2 separate regions of the Homo sapiens genome follow, and region 1 is linked to region 2. The links are contacts of gene promoters, found by promoter capture Hi-C in human tissues and cell types (Jung and others, 2019). All regions are on one chromosome and are shown on one strand. The core of a region is centred on a gene start or on the middle of the fragment in contact, and the rest is flanking DNA. Distances in the headings are between cores, read along the strand shown. Region 1 overlaps ADGRB1 (adhesion G protein-coupled receptor B1). Region 2 holds the start of LY6K (lymphocyte antigen 6 family member K).

Region 1 (2,786 bases), core at 132-2,631, 160 kb before region 2:
TGGGGCCTCAGGTGGCTTGGGTGTATGTGGGCCTCTCTGAGCCCCTGATTCCCTCTCATTCATGCGCTGGCTACAGCGCCTGGTGGATCCACATGCAGCTGGTGGATGCGCCATGAGCAGCTGGTGCTGAGCGCCTGGGAGCTTCCTCAGAGCGGGAGGGTGGGCGGGGTGCCAGCGAGGGGCCTGGGCCTGGGGGGAGCTTGGCTTTTATTGTGCCCCAAGGTGGGTACATGCGAGGGAGGCACATAGACCCCTCACGTGCCAGGCGCTCGTTCTGCCTTGTGGGGAGCAAAGTGTGAGGTGTGTGGGAGGTCGGGAGCCCCAGGGTCTGTGCGGGGTGGGGCGGCCTTGGGGACGTGCGTCCCGAGAGTGCTGTGGCTGTCTGGGTGGGGCATGTGGGTCTGACGGGGAGGATGACGGGTCACTCTTGGGTAGGGACGAGGGAAGGGGCGGGGCTGAAAATGGGCACAGGGTGTTGCTGTCCAGAGGGTGGAGGAGAGGACCAGGCCGGGAGCATGGCCTGCTGAGCTCTGAGGGGGACGGGGAAGCCTGTGTTCGGGAGAGAGAGTGACCCCTGGCTAGGCAGCTTGGGGGGCATTGGTGACCCTGGGGCCCGTGTGCCTGGCAAGGTGGCTGAAGGGAGCAGCTGGTGAACACAGGCACCCAGGGCTGGCTTGGCGTGGTGGGTAACCATCTGCCAGCCTGCATGGGGCAGGACACAGGGGGCAGGCCAGGCTTCCCAGGAAGGGCCCTGGGGTCTGGATCTTTGGAGACTGGGGCTTGGAGAAAGGAGGGGTGTGGAGGGTGGGCACCCCTCTGTCAGGGGCAGGCGGCTGGGTCAGAGTCAGCTTGGGGTTCTCCGCCAGCCAGTAGGGGCTAGATTCATTGGCAGGAAGTCGGGGGCAAACTGGAGCCCCACTCAGAGGTCAAGGCGGCTGGGCCCCTTGCAACTGACCAGAGACAGAATCAGAGGTGTCTGGGTATGGAGACCTCTCTCCAGGGACCAGGCGGCCCTCAGGGCAGAGCAGGGAGGCTTGCAGGCCCCAGGGGCAGCGATGCAGGAAGGGCCGTGACAGAGGGCCAGGGCCTCGTGGCTGCACTCAGCACCACTGGGCTCCCGCACACTGCCCCCCACCCACACAAGGCCCAGGGCCGTGGGCGTCGGGAGCGTTGGAGGGCCGGCTGGGCTCTGCCACCAGCACAGACCGTTCTGCCTGTGTCCCTGTGCTTCCGGGAGTCAAGGCCGCCCTCGCCTGCTCTTCTCAGCGCTGGGGAGGGCAGTGTGTGGGTGACAGCCATTTGTCTTCTTGGGGCCAGTGGAGAGGGCCACCCTGTGTGGCAGCCTCATCTGAGGACACAGGAACCCTAGGGGCCGTAGCGCCAGGCTTGGGTAGGGTGGTACCTGCAGTTGGCCCTCCGATCGGTACCCAGCAGGACCTGGCCAGGGTCTCCCAGGAGGTGGCGGCCTCGCAGGGCAGACTGGGCCCCTCTCCTGCTGGGGACTGTCCTACGCCATCCTCACCCCCACACCTGTCCCCGCTGTCTCCCCCGCGGCCCCTGCAGTGCTGAACAAGGACATCGCGGCCTGCCGCACTGCCACCATCACGGGCACACTGAAGCGGCCGTCTCTGCCCGAGGAGGAGAAGCTGAAGCTGGCCCATGCCAAGGGGCCGCCCACCAATTTCAACAGCCTGCCGGCCAACGTGTCCAAGCTGCACCTGCACGGCTCACCCCGCTATCCCGGCGGGCCCCTGCCCGACTTCCCCAACCACTCACTGACCCTCAAGAGGGACAAGGCGCCCAAGTCCTCCTTCGTCGGTGACGGGGACATCTTCAAGAAGCTGGACTCGGAGCTGAGCCGGGCCCAGGAGAAGGCTCTGGACACGAGCTACGTGATCCTGCCCACGGCCACGGCCACGCTGCGGCCCAAGCCCAAGGAGGAGCCCAAGTACAGCATCCACATTGACCAGATGCCGCAGACCCGCCTCATCCACCTCAGCACGGCCCCCGAGGCCAGCCTCCCCGCCCGCAGCCCGCCCTCCCGCCAGCCCCCCAGCGGCGGGCCCCCCGAGGCACCCCCTGCCCAGCCCCCACCGCCTCCGCCCCCACCGCCACCACCTCCCCAGCAGCCCCTGCCCCCACCGCCCAATCTGGAGCCGGCACCCCCCAGCCTGGGGGATCCCGGGGAGCCTGCCGCCCATCCGGGACCCAGCACGGGGCCCAGCACCAAGAACGAGAATGTCGCCACCTTGTCTGTGAGCTCCCTGGAGGTGAGGGGGGCAGGGGTGGGCCACACCCCAGCCAGCGAGGGCAGGGCTGCAGCAGCTGGGTCACCCCTGCTGGGTGGGACCCCCACGCCGTCAGCGGGGCGGGCTGGCTCTGCCTCCTAGCTACACCCCCCACCCCTGGCCCTGCTGGGTGTGCTGTGTATGTCTGACGTGTGGTCCCCACCCTAGGCTTGGCAGGGTGGTCTCACCCCGTTTCAAAGGGGCTCAGGGACCCACAGTCTGGACCCACGGAGCAGGACCTGCACCTCGCACAGTCGCTAGTCCAGCCCTTGGGGCAGCCTGGCAGCACATACCTGCCTAGGTCAGCCTGGAGCCTGCAGCTGACCCAGCCTCAGTCAGCCTGTAGGATGTTGTTTTTGGGGGAGCCCGTCCCCACAGGATATGCTCCCACCATATCCTGGCTCCTGGCCTCTGGTGATGCTGCCCTGTGTCCCTGAGTTCTCTGTCGGGGGACCCAGCCATGTGGCCCCAAGTTCAGGTCTCCTTGATCCTGGGGAG
Region 2 (2,700 bases), core at 129-2,628:
ACCACCCCTATGATCCAATCACCTCCCACCAGGCCCCACCCCCAACACTGGGGATTACAATTCAACATGAGATTTGGGTGGGGACACAGATCCAAACTATATCACAACTGTAAAAAAAAAAAAAAGACAAAGAAGAAAGCAAAGAAAGGAAAAGAGTGTGAAATTCCTGCTCCTGCCTGTGTTAACAGAGGGCCTCTATACAGAGGGTTGAGAGGAGAAAGCAGGGTGGAGAACACCACCTGTGGATTGCCCTTTGGGGCCTACTCACATGGGCCCAATTTCTCGTAAAACTAGTATTTAGGGTTTCTTTTGAATAAACATAGAAATTGGCCCACCCTGTCTTAAAACTTGGGAAAGTTACATTTGTCTTATCTGAGCTCCTTTCTCAGGAAACCAACCATCGGGCCTCCCAGACAGTATCAAGGCGCTGAAACTCAGTAGGTCCTTGAGGCCAGACCCCTCACCAGTCATGACTGCCTAGCTGCCTCCTCACTCTCCCTAATTCCTGTTTTCCCACACAGGGTGACATTTCTTCCCTGCTCTGGAAACTTCTAATTTTAGTGGGCTGAGGAGAGGGATTTGTGACTGAGCGCCCATCTCTGGGCTGTAGCACTTGAATGAGGCCTTCTTCCCTGGCACTGCTGTTGGTGATTGGCTTTCTGTGCAGGGCAGGGGGCCTAGATGACAACCCTGATGTTTGGGTAGCACTGTCACTGTGAGAGGCATGGAAATCCTCCAGTTCTTAGTCTTCTTGGAGGAAGGAATTCAGACAAGAGATGCCTAGCAAGAGGTATAGGGTTAAGTAACCTTTATTTAAAGAGTCAGGATCTCAGAGAGACAAGACAGAACCTGCCACTCAGGAGATAGAGCCAAAAGCTAGTGACTTAGGAGGAATTCTTTTCTTTCTCTTTTTTTTTTTATTTTTTTGAGACAGAGTCTCGCTCTGTGGCCCAGGCTGGAGTGCAGTGGCGCGATCTCGGCTCACTGCAAGCTCCACCTCCCGGGTTCACGCCATTCTCCTGCCTCAGCCTCCCGAGTAGCTGGGACTACAGGCGCCAGGAGGAATTCTTATTTGAGCTTTTAGTTAAGGAAAACAGTACAGCTTGAAAGAGGAACTGCTCAAAAGAATGAGTCAGTCGCTACTCACGCTGGGGAGACCCTCTTGATGAGAGTTTTACAGGATTACTCACGAACGGCCCAGGCAGGGGCCTTACTAGTAAGCACGTTTTGGGAAGTCCTCAGGGCACGCAGGCACCGTGACCTCACACACTAGTGCGCTGGAGTGTGTCATTAGCATCTGGAATCTCTCCCCAGGGATGTGGTTTTTGTTTTTTTTTTTTTTTTTGGTATTATAATGAGCTAAAAGCTATTCAGGGGCGAGTTATCAGAGGTGAGCCCGTGCTCTTCAGCGGAGAAGATCCCCTACCTGGCCGCCGGCCACTTTCTGTGGGCCGTGGGGTCCTCAAGGAGACGGCCCTTGGGCTCAGGGGCTGCGTTTCCACACGCGCCTTTCCCAGGGCTCCCGCGCCCGTTCCTGCCTGGCCGCCGGCCGCTCCAACAGCAGCACAAGGCGGGACTCAGAACCGGCGTTCAGGGCCGCCAGCGGCCGCGAGGCCCTGAGATGAGGCTCCAAAGACCCCGACAGGCCCCGGCGGGTGGGAGGCGCGCGCCCCGGGGCGGGCGGGGCTCCCCCTACCGGCCAGACCCGGGGAGAGGCGCGCGGAGGCTGCGAAGGTTCCAGAAGGGCGGGGAGGGGGCGCCGCGCGCTGACCCTCCCTGGGCACCGCTGGGGACGATGGCGCTGCTCGCCTTGCTGCTGGTCGTGGCCCTACCGCGGGTGTGGACAGACGCCAACCTGACTGCGAGACAACGAGATCCAGAGGACTCCCAGCGAACGGGTGAGCCTGGCTCGCCCTCCACAGCCACGGGCCGAGAGGACAGGGCCGGGCGGCGTCTGCCTGGCACCGCGTGGCCACCGCCCCGACCAGGCCGTGAGAACGGAGCGTTCAGGCGGCCCGTGGCGCCTGGAAGCCTCTGGGGAGCCTCGCCTCGTGCGGCTTCCACCAGGGCGGCGGGGCAGCCTGAGCCCGGCCCTTCCCCAGCCCTTGCCCCGCTCCGGCCGCGCTTCCCCGGGAGCCCTCAGGCTGCAGGCTCCCGCCGGCCTGGCCTCCGGGGGCTTCACGGGCTGAGAACCGTTCAAGCTGCGGGAGGAGGGCCGGCTCCTCCTGCAGAGCTAGGCCAGGCCCAACCCAGACCCAAGGGAGAACTCCTTTGAGGGAGTCGGGGGGCAGGACCTGGGAGGTGGGTGGACCTGGGAGGTGGGCGGGAGGGCACGTGGGAGCAGACCCAAGCCCCAGGGTCACTTCCACAGCCGTCGGCCGGGAGATGCCAGGGCCCGTGGGTGCCGCGTGGCCGACCTGGGGTCAGGGTGCTGCGGCCGAGTGGGGGTGCGCTGTGCGCTCATGTTGTGTGCTTGGATGTGGGAGGACGGGGGAGCCCCCAGGAGAGAAGAAAAATCACTCAGAATGTAAAGAAGTCCGGGGGCTGGGCAATTTATAAAGAAGAGAGGTGGAATTGGCTCACAGTTCCACAGGCTGTCCAGGAAGCGTGGTGCTGGCTTCTGGGGAGGCCTCAGGGCACTTACAATCATGGGGGAAGGCGAAGGGGAAGCGGGCAGCTCTTACGTGGCCGGAGACCCCT

Evidence for each region. Contacts are between HindIII fragments. The study calls those that stand out against the background at their distance.
Region 1: a fragment that was not itself captured here is called in contact with the fragment with the promoter of LY6K in region 2 in 1 of the 25 tissues and cell types used here (dorsolateral prefrontal cortex).

Annotation. Positions count from the first base shown.
Region 1 is chr8:142,540,378-142,543,163 of GRCh38, forward strand. It overlaps ADGRB1 (adhesion G protein-coupled receptor B1), which reads left to right. Exons shown (of 31, transcript NM_001702.3): 28 at 1,564-2,270. Among named protein-coding and RNA genes, the nearest start is that of ARC, 73 kb to the right of the region's middle. The HindIII fragment of the contact is 5,772 bases long and covers 1-2,786 here.
Region 2 is chr8:142,698,733-142,701,432 of GRCh38, forward strand. LY6K (lymphocyte antigen 6 family member K) reads left to right here and starts at 1,379. Exons shown (of 3, transcript NM_017527.4): 1 at 1,379-1,898. The coding sequence starts at 1,796. LOC124902032 (a long non-coding RNA gene) reads right to left here and starts at 952. Exons shown (of 2, transcript XR_007061133.1): 1 at 1-952. The HindIII fragment of the contact is 17,981 bases long and covers 1-2,700 here.